2 separate regions of the Homo sapiens genome follow, and region 1 is linked to region 2. The links are contacts of gene promoters, found by promoter capture Hi-C in human tissues and cell types (Jung and others, 2019). All regions are on one chromosome and are shown on one strand. The core of a region is centred on a gene start or on the middle of the fragment in contact, and the rest is flanking DNA. Distances in the headings are between cores, read along the strand shown.

What was found. Contacts are between HindIII fragments. The study calls those that stand out against the background at their distance.
Region 1: a contact is called between a fragment that was not itself captured here and the fragment with the promoter of ALDH3B2 in region 2, in 3 of the 25 tissues and cell types used here (lymphoblastoid cells, pancreas and spleen).

The regions. Positions count from the first base shown.
Region 1 is chr11:67,539,160-67,543,160 of GRCh38, reverse strand. No RefSeq gene overlaps it. Among named protein-coding and RNA genes, the nearest start is that of CABP2, 18 kb to the right of the region's middle. The HindIII fragment of the contact is 3,306 bases long and covers 442-3,747 here.
Region 2 is chr11:67,673,123-67,677,244 of GRCh38, reverse strand. ALDH3B2 (aldehyde dehydrogenase 3 family member B2) reads left to right here and starts at 2,622. Exons shown (of 10, transcript NM_001393402.2): 1 at 2,622-2,809. The HindIII fragment of the contact is 24,145 bases long and covers 1-4,122 here.

The DNA of each region.
Region 1 (4,001 bases), core at 845-3,344, 130 kb after region 2:
GCCTTTCTCTTGGGCTTCCTGTCCCCCGTATAATGAAGGGGAGTAAACAGAGTTACTGGCCTCCTGCAGTCACTCTGTGCCAGAATTTAAGGACAAAACAAAAAACAAACAAACAACAACAACAACAAACAGTAGCTTGAGCCACCACCTGTGGCAGAGGTGATTCAAGCACAGGCGTGGAGCCAGAAAGCTTTAATTCAATTCCTGGGTCAGCCTCTTACCAGCTATGTGAACTTTGGCAGTTACTTTACCTCTCTGTGTCTCTGTTTCCTCATCTCTAAAATGGAGATAATGGGTCGGGCACGGTAACTCACCCCTGTAATCCAAGTACTTTGGGAGGCCAAAGCAGGCGGATCACTTGAGGTCATGAGTTGGAGACCAGCCTGGCCAAAATAGTGAAACCCCATCTCTACTAAAAATACAAAACTTAGCCGGGTGTGGTGGTGGGCACCTGTAATTCCAGCTGCTCTGGAGGCCTAGGCAGGAGAATCGCTTGAATTCAGGAGGAGGTTGCAGTGAGCCAAGATCACGCCACTGCACTCCAGCCTGGGTGACAGAGCAAGACTCCGTCTCAAAAAATATAAAATTAAAAAAATAAAATGGAGATAATAATAGCATCCACGGGGTGGATTTTTTCTGCCAATTAAATGAGTTGATAGATGTCAAGTGCTTGGGGCACTGCCTGGAGGAAGCTTACCCTCCTCCCTCCCATATGCTGCTAGGGAGTCCCGACCACATGCCCTGGGTGTCATCTGTCAACTTTACAGCTAGAGGGGCTCCCAGCCTCTCACCAATGACCATCTGATCACTCCCACGCCTTGCAGCACCAGCTCACACATGTGGCTTCATGCCAGTCCTGAGGTACCCAGACAGGGGCCCAGTCCCTTTTCCTGGCCACAGGGAGCCTCTCCATCCACCTTCTTGCAGTCTCAGAGCTACACAGCCAAAATGTCCAGCCCAGTCACCCTGAAGAGTGTGAAAGTGATTGTCTGAAGGAAGCTTTCTTTTAAAAATATTTTTATACAGTCACAGTGGCTCACACCTGTAATTCCAGCATTTTGGGAGGCCAAGGCGGGTGGATCACTTGAGGTCAGGAGTTCGAGGTCAGCCTGGCCACCATGGCCAAACCCCGTCTCTTCTAAAAATGCAAAAATTAGCCAGGTGTGGTGGCGTGCGCCTGTAATCCCAGCTACTTGGGAGGCTGAGGCATGAGGATCACTTGAATCCAGGAGGTGGAGGTTGCAGTGAGCTGAGATCATGCCACTGCACTCCAGCCTGGGTGATAGAGTAAGACTGTCTCAAAAAATAAAATAAAAAATGTTTTTAGAGATGGGGTCTCGCTCTTTTGCCCAGGCTGGAGTTTAGCGGTGCAATCATAGTTCACTGCAGTCTTTAACTCCTGGGCTCAAGCAATCCTCCCACCTCAGCCTCTGAGTAGCTGGGACTGCAAGTGTGAGCCGGTGCATCCAACTCCTGCGGGAAGCTTTGAAAAGAGCAACTCCTCTCCTCCTGCTGCTCTGGAACCTGCGGGATGCTCGAATGTCCCCTAGGCCTGCTCTGTGGCCTACCACGGCCACTGTCTTCCCTGCCTACACAGTGAACCACTGTGGTCCAAGGAGTCCAGCCCTTCCCATGCCAAGCCACTGGTAAGGCTGCCTGCCCTCAGGCACCAGGGCATCCCAAGCATACTCCAAGGCCTGGCCCAGGCGAGGCTGGAACCTGAACACGCCCTCCTGAATGCTCGGGGCACTGAGGAGGCTCACAGGCCACAGGCTGCAGGCCCTGGGCCCTGCCTGGCAGGCTCCTTGGGGCAGGGTTACAAGACCCACTGGAACAGCTCCCCCCTCAGGCAACAGTCTGTCTTCTGGGCTGTGGAAGCTTCGGGATTTCACTGAGATGATGGGTGTGCAGCACTTTCCTCTTGGGGACTGGGGGGGTCGTTCCTGGACCATGCCTCCCAAAAGGGGTCAGCTCTCCTTCACCAGAAACAGAACTGCCAGTCAGCCCCTCAAACCCAAGGTGCATAAGACCCCTCCCCATGGAGCCTCTGCTAAGCATCTCAGTCAGGCAAACGCTCCTTTGAGGGGCAGCCAGGCCTCCAACCTGGGAGCTTAGCACCCAGGACACCAACTCGACCCATCTACCCACTTGCTTAGTGAACCTAGGCAGTCCAGTCCTCTCTCTGGGCCTCAGTTTCCCTGTCTATTAGGTGTTGAGTTAGGTGGTGCCCAAGGCTTCCTGAGCTATCACAGGCTCTGATTCCTAAAAGTCACCATCCCTGTTCAAAAGCCTGCAGTGGCTCCCTAGTGCCCTGGGAGTCAACTCCCACTCCTTCATCCAGCAGACAAGGCCTCTGCCAAGGTCACCAGCGCCCCTGTCCACTCAACCCCTGGGAGGGTCATCTGTAGCCTCTGGTCCTGCCTATGCCTGGGTCATTCCCAGCAGCCTGGGATGGGGTAGAAGGTCCCTTATGCCCACCCAGCCCCTCAATGACCTCAGCACAGCTTTCCTCTCATTGCTTTTATTGATTCCCAAGGGCAACCCTGCTCCCATGGGGAGGCCAAGTGGGCTCACATCTTGTAGCCTCCAAAGATGGGGTCGTTCCCATACTCAGGGGAAGCCAGGGAGGCCTCGAGCTTAGGCTGGGCGCTGAGGCGTGCCACGTAGGCTGAGAGCAGGAGGAGGGCACCCAGATAGCCGGGCACCAGTGTCCCTGGTAGAGGGTTGTGACTGCAAGTTGTCCAGGTTCATGGTGTTTTGAACCAAGAATTGGACAAAACACCCAGCAAAGCAAAGAAAGAATGAAGCAACAAAAGAATGAAAGCAGTTTTTTGTTTTTTGTTTTTTTTGAGACGGAGTCTTGCTCTGTCACCCAGGCTGGAGTGCAGTGGTGTGATCTCTGCTAACTGCAACCTCTGCCTCCCAAGTTCAAGTGATTCTTGTGCTTCAGCCTCCCAAGTAGCTGGGATCATAGGCGTGTGCCACCACACTCAGCTAATTTTTTTTTTTTTTTTTTTTTTTTGTATTTTCAGTAGAGACAGGGTTTCACCATGTTGGCCAGGCTGGTCTTGAACTCCTGACCTCAGGTGATCCACCCACCTCGGCCTCCCAGAGTGCTGGGATTACAGGTGTGAGCCACCACACCCGGCCTAAAAGCAGGGATTTATCGAAAACGAAAGTACACTCCACAGTGTGGGAGTGGGCCCAGCAGCAGCTCAAGGGCCTGGATACAGAATCTTCTTGGGTCCAAATACCCCCTAGAAGTTTCCCATTGGTCACTTCATGCTCACCTCATGTAAATGAAGTGGTAGCCTGCAATCTGATTGGTTGCGGAAAACAGCCAATCAGAGGCTGAAGTGAACTTACAAAGGTCACACTCCTGTGCCAACATCTGATTGGATCAGATGTTTGCTAGGGTGAAGTTACAAAGTTATGCTTCTATGCAAACGAAGACTCCACCCACAATCAGTCTGATTGTTTGTGGACAGCAACCATTCATAGGCTGGAGTGAAATTACCAAGTTGCAAACGAAGACTCCACCCACAACTAGTCTGATTTGTTGGGGACAGCCAATTTCGCATCTGCTGTGCAGAAAAGGTCAAATGGAGTAGCCTCTGGTCCTTTTGTTACTTAGGTGTGGAAAGTTAGGGTTTTCCTTTCAATTTAGTTCTAGGAAGTTGGCATGAAACAGCCTTAGGTTCCCTGCCTCCACACCCTATTCTCCTGCCTCACCAGGACCTGGTGGGCCAGCAGCAAGTCCAGCAGGTTGTGGTCGGTGAAGGAGACCTGCAGGGCAGGGAGTGTGAGGGAGCTTGAGCTGGGTCAGGAGAGAGCAGCTTCAGGAGCCAGAACCCTGGCTGTCTCTGCTGCAGTGAACTGGCCCACCCTGGGCCTCAGTTTGCCCTTCTAAGAAATGGACCTACAATGATCTGGGAGAGGCTGGAGCCAGCGCTCACCTTGTTGCCCACAATGAAGGCCTGTCATCCCTGGTTCTGGGTCAG
Region 2 (4,122 bases), core at 1,373-3,872:
CTTTTTGATATGGTGTTGAATTCGGTTAGCTAGTATATTGTTAAGGATTTTAGCATCTATGTTCATCAAGGATATCAGTCTGTCATTTCCTTTTTTGGTTGTGTCCTTTCCCGGTTTTGGTATTAGGATGATGCTGGCTTCATAGAATGAATTAGGGAGGGCTCCTTCTTTCTCTATCTTGTGGAATAGTGTCAAAAGGATTGGTACCAATTCTTCTTTGACTGTCTGGTAAAATTCTGCTGTGAATCCTTCTGGTCCTGGACTTTTTTTTTGTTGGTAATTTTAAAATTACCACTTCCATCCCGCTGCTTGTTATTGGCCTGTTCAGGGTATCTAATTCTTCCTGATTTAAACTAGGGGGGTTGTATTTTTCCAGGAATGTAACCATTGCTTCTAGGTTTTCTAGTTTATGTGTGTAAAGGTGTTCACCATAGCCTTGAATGCTCTTTTATATTTCAGTGGTGTCAGTTGTAATATCTCCTGTTTCATTTCTCAGTGAGTTTATTAGGATTTTCTCTCTTCTTTTCTTGGTTAATCTTGCAAATGATCTATCAATTTTATTTATCTTTTCAAAGAACAAGTTTTTGTTTCATTTACCTTTTGTATATTTTTTCTGTTTCAATTTCATTTAGTTCTGCTCTAATCTTGGTTATTTCCTTTCTTCTGCTTGGTTTGGGTTTGGATTGTTCTCGTTCCTCTGTTCCTTGAGGTGTGATCTTAGATTGTCTGTGCTCTTTCAGACTTTTTGATGTAGGCATTTAGGGCTATGAACTTTCCTCTTAGCACAGCCTTAGCTGTATCCCAGAGGTTTTGATAGGTTGTGTCACTGTTGTCATTCAGTTTGAAGAATTTTTTAATTTCCATCTTGATTTTGTTTTTGACCCAATGCTCATTCAAGAGCAGGTTATTTAATTTCCAGTTATTTGCATGGTTTTGAAGGTTCTTTTTGGAGTTGATTTCCAGTTTTATTCCACCGTGGTCTAAGAACATGCCTGATATAATTTCATTTTTCTCTTGTTGCCCAGGCTGGAGTGCAATGGTGTGCTCTCAGCTCACTGCAACCTCTGCTTCCTAGGTTCCAGCAATTCTCCTGCCTCAGCCTCCCGAGTAGCTGGGATTACAGGCACATGCCACCACGCCTGGCTAATTTTTTGTATTTTTAGTAGAGACAGGGTTTCACCATGTTGGCCAGGCTGTTCTGGAACTCCTAACCTCAAGTGATCCACCAGCTTCGGCCTCCCAAAGTGCTGGGATTACAGGCATGAGCCACCGCACCCGACCTATTTTACATTTTAACAATTGCTACTGAGGTTGAGCATATTTTAATTTATTTACGTCTATTCAGGCTTCTTGTCAGTTCAGTTTAACAAAACAAAACAAAACAGCTTATTGAGATAGCATTCACATCCCATACAACTCACCCATTTACAGTGTACAATTCAGTGGTTTGGAGGCAGTGGGCCTCCCCAGTGGCCATAACCCATCTGCTGCTCTTAGATGGGCCTTAGCATTCTGCCCTGTATTCCCTTCCCCATCCCGAGGTCCCTTCCTGGTGTCACATTGGCATTTACATCTTTAGCTACCGAAGATTCCAGGGCCAGGGCTTGGTCTCAGGCTGTGGCCTCCGCTGGGCTGTCTCCAGTCACAACCAAGGGTTATCTCAGATGTCCCTCCTGCCCACAGGGCTGCACACTCTGCCAAGAGACTCTCTACAGCCCTCAGCAGGGCGTGTCCTTGGTCTCAGGCTTGGGGGAAGGTGGGGTGGGGACAGAGTCAGGCCATCCATGAAGGACAGTGGCAGGACCTGAGCTCATTCTGCTCCCTGGAACCTAGAAGGTGCTCAGCAAATACTTGTGGAAACATTAGCGGGCAACATTGAGGGGCACTGATTTTGTGCCAGGAGCTGTGATCTGCCTTTTCCATTCTCACGTCTCCCTCTGTGACCCTCTCAAGAACCATGGCAATTAGGTGTTATTGTTACTTCCGAAAGGCTCAGAGACGTTAAGTAACCTACCCACGGTTGCACAGTAAATAAATAAACCAATGAACAATGCGCCATCCTAGAGCTACAGGTGCCGTCGCCCATCAAGGGTCTCTCTGCAAAGATCTGAGCCCCTTCCTCTGCCCTGAGTATGCCAGCTGGGCACACTGAGAGTGGAAATAGAGCCACAGTTGCTCATCTTGACCTGTGAAGCCTGAAGAGTGAGGACAGGAGAGGAGGGAGATGAAGATTTAGCATAGAGACCCTAGGAGGGGCCATGGGGGGCATGGGACCACTGTGGCTGGGGCCTGGGAGGACTTCCTGGCGAAGGCAGCATTTGCCACCAGGATCCTGCTGATATTTTCATCCTGTGACCTTCCCCTGGGGTTCTTTTTTCCTGATCAGGTAACTCCCTGCTAGCCCATTCCAGGAAACACAGAGCAAAGCCTCAGACAGCCTTGACTTGTCTAACCTGTTCCCAAGCCGGCTGTGCAGTGTGGTCCCTGGGGGCAGGGCCCTGGAAGAACAGGGCAGACACCGAGCAGCTATAGGTCCTGGCAGTGAGACAAGGGTAGGCATGGGAATTGGGAGGTGCAGCCCTGCCCCACGCCTGTTGGGTAACACTGAGCATCACCCCATTGATTACCCCATTGCCAGGCGTGGGCACGGGAGTTGGTTTGGGAGCTGCCAGTCTCCTGGGAGGATCGCAGTCAGCAGAGCAGGGCTGAGGCCTGGGGGTAGGAGCAGAGCCTGCGCATCTGGAGGCAGCATGTCCAAGAAAGGGAGTGGAGGTGCAGCGAAGGACCCAGGGGCAGAGCCCACGCTGGGTTATGTGGGGCCACAGGGGTGAGGGGCGGGCAGAGGGAGCTCAGGGTAAAGGACACTGGTGGGAACCAGGGGCATGGAGGGAAGGGGATGTGTGCCCATGGCCCGTGGGTCAGGGGGCAAGCCCACCAAGGGGCCTATGGCTGCAGGGGCCATGGGTACGGGGCTTGCTCAGGAGAGGGAGGTGGGTGCTGGTGTCTTCTGAGCCTCACTTTGCCCTTTGGCAGGCTCCTGGGAAGCAGCCACAGAAATGAAGCCTGTTCCCCAGGAGCCCCAGGGATGGGGACAGACCCCGTCCTCCCTTTGAGGAGCTCCCAGGTTAGAGGAGAAGGCAGCTCTGTGGACAGACAAGGATTGGGTCGGGGGCACCAGGGCTGTGATCAGGAGGTGCCGGAGAATCGGGGATTGGAAGCAGAGAGATTCTTGGCAGTTGAAGCGAAAGTCGGATCTTTGGTTTCAGATGTTAAAAGCAACATGCATTGCTTGTTTCTGGTTCTAGAAATACTACATTCGCATTTAGAAAGTCTGGAAGCTGCAGGAAGATGTTGAGAAGACAGTGAAAGGCACGAGGCACACATTGGCACATGGTGTCACAAGGCTGGTGTGAGGAGAGGGGCTGGGGGGCCTCCCTCCTCGCACTGAGGCTGTGAGGAGGGCAAATCAAGTCGTCTCTGGGAGCCTCGGTTTCCCTGTCCTTCCAACTGGGTAATAATAATAGCTGTGAGGCTCAGATGAGATGTGCATGCCAGCTACCTGGCCCCAGATGCCAGCTCTGACTTCTTTCTGGGCCCTGCACCAGGCATGGCCACTGCCAAGGGAATGAGTCCCCTCTCCATATGACAGGTCCCATCAGGCCTCCACCTTCCTGTGTGTCTTATTTCTCAGCATCTGCCCCCACAGGGCTTTTGCACACGTTGGTCCCTCTGTCCAGATCACCTGCCCTCCAAGAGGCCCTCCCCTACGGCTTCCCCGCAGCAGTCAGAGCCAGGGGTGGGTCTCTGGCCACCTCTGGAAGAAGCCCTGGCCCACCGATCATGTTTGTAATGATATTGTTTCCGGTGTCATTGTTCCGTGTGTAGACTGTGAGCTCCATGGGGGCTGGCCAAGTCTGGGGTGGTCACCTATGGGACCCAGGTCCAGTCAGGAACTGCCTGGTGAGCAGCCAGAGGTCCCCAGTGTAAACCCAGAAAATCTGAGACGGGTCTCAGTTAATTTATAAAGTTTATTTTGCCTGTAATCCCAGCACTTTGGGAGGCCGAGGCGGGCGGATCACGATGTCAGGAGATCGAGACCATCCTGGCTAGCACGGTGAAACC